Linked DNA regions of Homo sapiens: region 2 is linked to region 1. Evidence: promoter capture Hi-C in 16 types of primary human blood cells and fetal thymus (Javierre and others, 2016). All regions are on one chromosome and are shown on one strand. Each heading gives the region's core, a stretch centred on a gene start or on the middle of the fragment in contact. The rest is flanking DNA. Distances are from core to core; before and after follow the strand shown. Region 1 holds the start of TRIM61 (tripartite motif containing 61). Region 2 overlaps SMIM31 (small integral membrane protein 31).

Evidence for each region. Contacts are between HindIII fragments. The CHiCAGO score rates a contact against its expected background, and 5 or more counts as called.
Region 2: a fragment that was not itself captured here is called in contact with the fragment with the promoter of TRIM61 in region 1 in 1 of 17 cell types (megakaryocytes); the score reaches 5.6 in megakaryocytes.

Annotation. Positions count from the first base shown.
Region 1 is chr4:164,975,749-164,979,428 of GRCh38, reverse strand. It overlaps TRIM61 (tripartite motif containing 61), which reads left to right and starts at 1,772. Exons shown (of 3, transcript NM_001414904.1): 1 at 1,772-1,898; 2 at 2,604-2,741. RefSeq lists enhancers at 1,494-1,553, 1,584-1,663. The HindIII fragment of the contact is 561 bases long and covers 1,544-2,104 here.
Region 2 is chr4:164,778,037-164,781,716 of GRCh38, reverse strand. The region is part of intron 2 of SMIM31 (small integral membrane protein 31); the gene reads right to left. Among named protein-coding and RNA genes, the nearest start is that of SMIM31, 26 kb to the right of the region's middle. The HindIII fragment of the contact is 667 bases long and covers 1,659-2,325 here.

The sequences.
Region 1 (3,680 bases), core at 523-3,022:
TGGGGGAAGCTGCTGCCACTGGTATTTCTTTTCCTTTCTTTTTCAGGAGACTCTGGAATTTCAAAAGGTTTACGAACAAGGACTTTGCTTTATCGGTTGATTTGTCTAGGTCACACCTCTATTCAACTGTCCACCATACACCCTTTCTAGGATATATTAAAGGCATCGACGGGTCTTTATTCCACAATTCAAATCTTAGTACTTCATGTTTAAAATGCTTCACTGGCTTTTCTTTGCATTTGATAAAAACCAATATCCTCAATTTTGCCTAAAGGGCCTTGCAGCATTCATTCTCGCCTATCTCATCAGCCTCACAAAGCCATTTTCCATATTTTATACTTCTTGCAATTTCCCACGTTGTAGTGCCAACCAAATGACCTCTTTCAGTTCCTTTTGTACCAAGTTTTTAAAAATTATCATCTCTAGGCAGGGCGCGGTGGCTCACGCCTGTACTCCTAGCACTTTGGGAGGCCGAGGCGGGCGGATCACGAGGTCAGGAAATCGACACCATCCTGGCTAACACGGTGAAACCCCGTCTCCACTAAAAATACAAAAAATTAGCTGGGCGTGGTGGCAGGCACCTGTAGTCCCAGCTACTCTGGAGGCTGAGGCAGGAGAATGGCGTGAACCCGGGAGGCGGAGCTTGCAGTGAGCCGAGATCACGCAACTGCACTCCAGCCTGGGCCACAGAGCGAGACTCCGTCTCAAAAAAAAAATAAAAATAAAAATAAAATTATCATTTCTGGCTGGGTGAGGTGGCTCACGCCTGTAATCCTGGCACTTTTGGGAGGCCGAGGCGGGCGGATTGCCTGATCTCAGGAGTTCGAATCCAGCCTGGGCAACACGATGAAACCCCGTCTCTACTAAAAATACAACAACAAAAAATTAGCCAGGCGTGGCGGCGTGCGCCTATAGACCCAGCTACTCGGGAGACAGAGGCAGGAGAATTGCTTGAAACTGGGAGGCAGAGGTTGCAGAGAGCCAAGATCGCGCCACTGCACTCCAGCCTGGGCGAAAGAGAGATTCCGTCTCTTATTAAAAGAAAAAAAAATCATTTCTAAAATATTTTGTAGACGCAGGGTCTGGCAATGTTACCTAGGCTTGTCCTGAACTCCTGGCCTCAAGCGATCCTCCCACCTCTGCCTCTGAAAGTGCTTGGATTACAGGTGTGAGCCACTATGCCCGGCCTGTACTAAATTCTTTAAAGTTGAGAGGCTCCACATTGGCTCTTCTTCCAGCCTTGAAGACTTTGACCGTGGAATTGATCCAACGAATGCCTCTTCATCCCTCAAATTCCGCCTGAAATGTCACTTCCTCAGGTAAACCTGAGTTCATAGGGTAGGGCACAATCCCACAGGGTGGGAGAGATCCACCCACTCACCCACTGAGATGCAAACTAATCCAAAGGGGCTTCTATTCCTCTTTCAAGCATAGGGAGTGCTCAACGACTCCACCCTGCGACCCCAGGCTACGGGAAGCAGTTGACCCTGCAAAGCTCTCCACTCCCTCACCATCTGGGAGGGGACGCTGTGCTGGTGAAGCTTTTAAAACCAACTTGCAGACTTACTTGGACCCTCAAGTTTACTCATATACATAAAAAGTGATAAGAATCCGAAAAGACAGCCAGGGGAATTAAATGCCAGTTGGGGCCAACGGGGCCCTGATCACGGAAGAGGGCGCCCCCAGCTCTCAATCTTCACACAATCCCTGCACCCAGGGTCACAGAGCATGCGCAGGTCCTTCCCGCCCACTTCCGGGGCAACTGCCAACCACCGCGCAGGCTGAGCCCCAGGCAGGAAGCAGCCCACTTGGTGGGGTTGGGGTATGAGTCCTTCCTCGCGGGGGCTCGGTGGGTCCTGAGTATTCTTTGGCCGGATTTGCTGATCCGTCTGCTCCAGGTGAGCTGGGAAGGCCGCAGGAAAGGCCCAGAAGGGCCTCGCCAGGAGGCTTAACTGGACAGGGGCTTCTTGAACATTCTCTGTGCCTAAACCTCCGGGTCGCTGCCTGCCCACGACTGGATCTCCTTAGTGTCTGGCGTAGCTCTTGTGAAAAATTCAGGATTGTAGAGTTAGAATGGGGGTGTTGAGCCTGTATCAATTAAGCTTTAAATGTTATGATCTGAATTAGGGTTTATGAAGTGGCTATGTTATCTTCAAAGAGTTAATGTACGTGTTTGGGAGTGGGGGTTGGGGAGTTAAGGGAGCGAAGTGGTAGCTGCCAGTTGAGAACCCACCAGCCTACGTCGTCTGCACCCTCGACCTATGTAAGCATCCTGTAATCCTCACAAGGGTCTTACAGGTACGAATTATCATTTCAACTTTGTAGATGAGGCGCTTTAGGTGCAGGCATGTTAAGAATCAGCCAGTATGATGATGGTTGAAACTGAGAGCTTGGAATCTACCACAGGTTTTATTTATTCCTCAAACAAGCTAGAGACGTATTGCCACCAAGAAGCTTGCTGCCTGGTGAGGGGTTTTTACAGTTAGGTAAAGAATTGCAGAGTAGCTGTAAAATCACATAACTGTGATATGTGACATGATGGGAGCTAGGCAAAAAACTTGGACTAGATCTTAATGGATCTTTTTGCTTTGTTTTCCTTAAAGCATAGGTTCACAAAGTACAGTCCGCAGGCCAGCAGCATCATCTGGGAACTTAGGAAAAAACCAGCCCTACTGAGTCAGAAACTGGGGATGTGGCCCAGGCAATCTTTTACCAAGACCTCCAGGTGATTATAATGCAAGGTAAGATTTGAGAATTGCTTCCATAAAGTAATAAAGGACCAGTGGAATGTTTTCAGTTGAAATATGAAAGGATTCTGTTTGTATTTGAAAAGGTCAGTTTAGCTACAGACTTCAGAAATTGGAGGCACCATTGTGTATCTAGGAGAGAGACATAAGTGGTTTAAACTAGGGTGGTGACTGTGCCTACAGAGCTGTTCTGTTCACTTAATGTCCTGATTTTAAATAGTAGAGAAGACTGCTTTGGGTGTATGCTTGGGGAAAGGAGGGCACAATGATACCTGGAGTGAGTCCTCTTGTGTCCTTTATGAAGGGGTGGCCTGCCCCTCCACACCTGTGGGTATTTCTAGTCGGGTGGGACGAGAGACTGAGAAAAGAAATAAGACAGAGACAAAGTATAGAGAAACAACAGTGGGCCCAGGGGACCGGCGCTCAGCATACCAAGGACCTGCACCGGCACCGGCCTCTGAGTTCCCTCAGTTTTTATTGATTATTATTTTCATTATTTCAGCAAAAAGGAATGTAGTAGGAGAGCAGGGTTATAATAAGGAGAAGGTCAGCAACAAACATGTGAGCAATAGAATCTATGTCATAATTAAGTTCAAGGGAAAGTACTATGACTGGACGTGCACGTAAGCCAGATTTATGTTTCTCTCCACCCAAACATCTCAGCGGAGTAAAGAATAACAAGTCAGCATTACTGCAAACATGTCTCGCCTCCCACCATAGGGCGGTTTTTCTCCTATTTCAGAATTGAACAAAGGTACAATCAGGTTTTATACCAAGACATTCAGTTCCCAGGGGCAGGCAGCAGACCGTGGCCTTCCTCCATCTCAACTGCAAGAGGCTTTCCTCTTTTACTAATTCACCTCAGCACAGACCCTTTACGGGTGTCAGGCTGGGGACAGTCAGGTCTTTCTCATCCCACGAGGCCATATTTCA
Region 2 (3,680 bases), core at 743-3,242, 200 kb after region 1:
GGCCTCTCCAGGGGACATTTGGCAGTCTCTGGAGACATTATCGGTTGCCACAACGAGGTGGGTTGGGGAAGTGCAACATGGATCTAGTGGGAAGAGGCAAGGAGGCTGCTAAAAGTCCTCCTATGCTTAGGACAGCCCCCTACAACAAAGAATGATCTGGCCTAAAACAATAATGAGGTTGAGAAACACTAACTTAGCAAAACACATTTGAGATTCATTCATATTGTTGCATGTATCAATAGTTTGTTTCTTTTTTATTGCTTAATAATATTCTGGTTTATAAATGTATTAGAGTCTGTTTATTCATTTACCTGCTAAAGGACATTTGGGCTGTTCTCATTTTTTGGCAATTGTGAATAATGGTATAAACATTTGTGTAAATGTTCTTGAGTGAAGGTAAGTACTGGGAGTAGGATTGTTTGGTCCTTTGGTAAGCATATGTTTTATCTTTGTAAGAAATTCCAAACTGCTTTCCAAACTGGCTGTACCATTTTGCGTTCCCACCAGCAACATATGAGAATTCCAGTAGTTCTTCATCTTCAGCAGTACTTGGTATTGTGTGTGTGTGTGTGTGTGTGTGTGTGTGTATGTAAATGTAGTATATGTAGGGCCAGGAATGGTGGCTCACACCTGTAATCCCAGCACTTTGAGAGGTGGAGGTGGGACAATTGCTTGAGGCCAGGAGTTTGCGACCTGCCTGGGCAACATAGCAAGACCCCTGTCTGTACCAAAATTAAAAAATAGCCGGGTGTGGTTGCATGTGCCTCTAGTCCTAGCTACTAGTAGGCAGAAATAAGAGGACTGCTTTAGCCCAGGAGTTTGAGGCTTCAGTGAGCTATGATTGTGCCACTTTACCTAGCCTGGGTGACACAGCAAGTCACTGTCTTTAAGAAAAATAAAAATTAAAAAAAGTAGTATATATATTTAAATTTTAGTCATTCTAATAGATGTGTAGTAGTATCCCATTATGGTTTTAGGTTTGTCTGGTTTTGGCTAATTTTTAGAATTTTAGAATTTAATGCACATTTTCTGAGATTTCAAAAATAGTATTATAAAAACAGTGTTTGATAATACACACAGTTATTAATGCCTTTGTAGGCATTCATTCTGTTCTTCCTCATTGTAGAGCTACTGATCCTTTTACAGCTTCTATTTTAAAATAATCCAGTTTACCAGTATTAGGATTCATTGATCTACAAAGGCCTTCAGGACACACCTGGCCTAGGCCCCTGCCTACTACATGGATTTTGAGAAAAAGAGAAGAAGCTATTCGTTTTTTGTTTGTTTTTTGAGATGGAGTCTCGCTCTGTCACCCAGGCTGGAGTGCAGTGGCGCAATCTCGGCTCACTGCAACCTCCACCTCCCGAGTTCAAGCAGTTCTCCTGCCTCAGCCTCCCGAGTAGCTGGGACTACAGGCATGCGCCACCACGCCTGGCTAATTTTTTGTATTTTTAGTAGAGACGGGGTTTCACCATGTTGGCCAGGCTGGTCTTGATCTCCTGACCTTGTGATCCACCCGCCTTGGCCTCCCAAAGTGCTGGGATTATAGGTGTGAGCCACCGCGCCCGGCCACTATTCCTATTTTTAAATATGATTAAGGGATTATCTGGAAGAGTTGCATGCATTGCTCACAGTTCACTGGGGAAAAAGACAAAGCTTTGGCATTCCCAGTGTTTAGCATGGTGGCTGGTGTGAAATTAGTTTTACACAGGCAGCACCGGGACACAACAGAGCAAAATTATTTTTCTTGGATTCGGGTGTTTGTCAAACATTGCCGTCTACTGGCTGGCTGCTGCAATTACTTCTAAGACATGCCAAAAAACCAGTTTGTTGCCTGTTCTCAAAATTTGCTGTCTCCACCTCTAACAATCCATATTAAATAGATTAATAATCCTTCTTTTAAAGCATAACTTTATTGATTCCTCTATATCCCTAAATATGTGTGTCAGGAACATTGATGCAGAGAGGATATTTTGATTTCATTTAAAACAAGCCTGAAATTTGCCCTGGTAAATAATGAACAGTCTCATTCCATGCAAGTTTGTGGCTTTCAGTTGAGATAAATAGGAAGACCTCAGTCTCACTTATGGCCATGTCTTCTTAATTTTGGACAATTTGGTTTATAAAGGCAGAAGAGTCATTGTATTCAGAGATAACAGAAAAATTGCAAAAAAAAATTGCTGACTTTTCCATGACAAAAATTTGCAGAAAAATAACTTTAAAACTATGTGAAATAATAGAAAGTCTACAGATTGGCCACTAATCTCAGTTTGGTCTTTTGCTAATAGGGGCTTTCCTCACTTTTACGAAGAAGAAGCAGAAGCTTCCAATTCAGGATCCAGACATTTTGGCATTTTTTTCCTAACAATTTAACTGGAAACCTTGGTGCCTGTGGCCTTTGGCACCCGCAGAACTATGTTGTGAAGTATTAGCTCAGCATGCCCAATAGTTTAGCCACACGCTACGGAAATAGCTGCGGTGACCAAAATGTAAACCCACCTCTAATTACTGAAGAATTAGAAATGAACACAGTCTTCATGACATTCTCTAAGACTACAGTGTTTTAGGCATACATACCCGAATGTTGAACTTCTCTGCGACCAAAAGACATTTAATTTATGTTCAATCAAACCTAGTTAATTACAAACACAACTTTAAGGTAGTTAAAGAAACCCTCAGTTGAAAAAGATGTAGCTGATGCGCTGGAGTTTTTTTTTTTTTTCCTGTTTAGTGGATTCCATTCTCAATATTATTTTACATTTTTTCCAGGTTGAGAGGCCATTTTTAATTCACAAAGAGTTTATGGTTATAGTAAACATGGCGGATCATCAGTATCTGTCTATGTTTGTTCAAGGATACCTGAATTTAGATATGAGGGTTAACTTGGCAACTTGCCCATGATCACACAGTTAATTCTGAGTCAGTTCCCATCTTCACACTCACCCCTGTCTTAGGCATGTGGATGGAGAACCTGAGCCATGATCATGCTCACCGAGCTCTTCCTGCCTCTTCCTCTCCTTGGGCACATTGCTTCTGGGAATTTCATTTTCCTTATCTCCAAAGTAGACATAGCATTACTTCCCTGCTTTACAATGTGGTCATAGGGATGAAAGGAGGCTTAAATATGTTAAGTGCTTGGCAGACAGTGAACACTCAAAATATTATTTTTGTGCTATAGATATCGTCAGTTCTTATTTTGCAGACAACCCAAATTGTGTACCAAGGGAATAAATTTTTCATCGAGTCATCACATATAACTCCCTAAATGTGTGCTGGTACTATCAAATCATTTTGTATATTATTAGAGGTGTGTATTAAACTTTTGTTTTGTGCTTAATGTTGATTTTGGAGAAGAATGAGGTGGCATTGCAAAATAAAATTTTTTTTTTTAATCTGTTTACCTGGGTACAAATTTGTAGCTTCCCTACTTGATTTTGCCTCACTACTCTTGAGTGCTGAAAGGTTTATGTTTATTTATTTATTTATTTTTAAATAGAGATGAGGTCTCACTATGTTGCCCAGGCTGATCTCAAACTTCTGGGCTCAAGCCATCCTCCTGCCTTGGCCTCCCAAAGTGCTGGGATCACAGGCGTAAGCCACTGCATGTGGCCAGGTTTATGACTTTGACTCTGGTTTGTGAGGCCAGCTTTGAAAAAACGGTAGGGATCTTCTTAAACAAC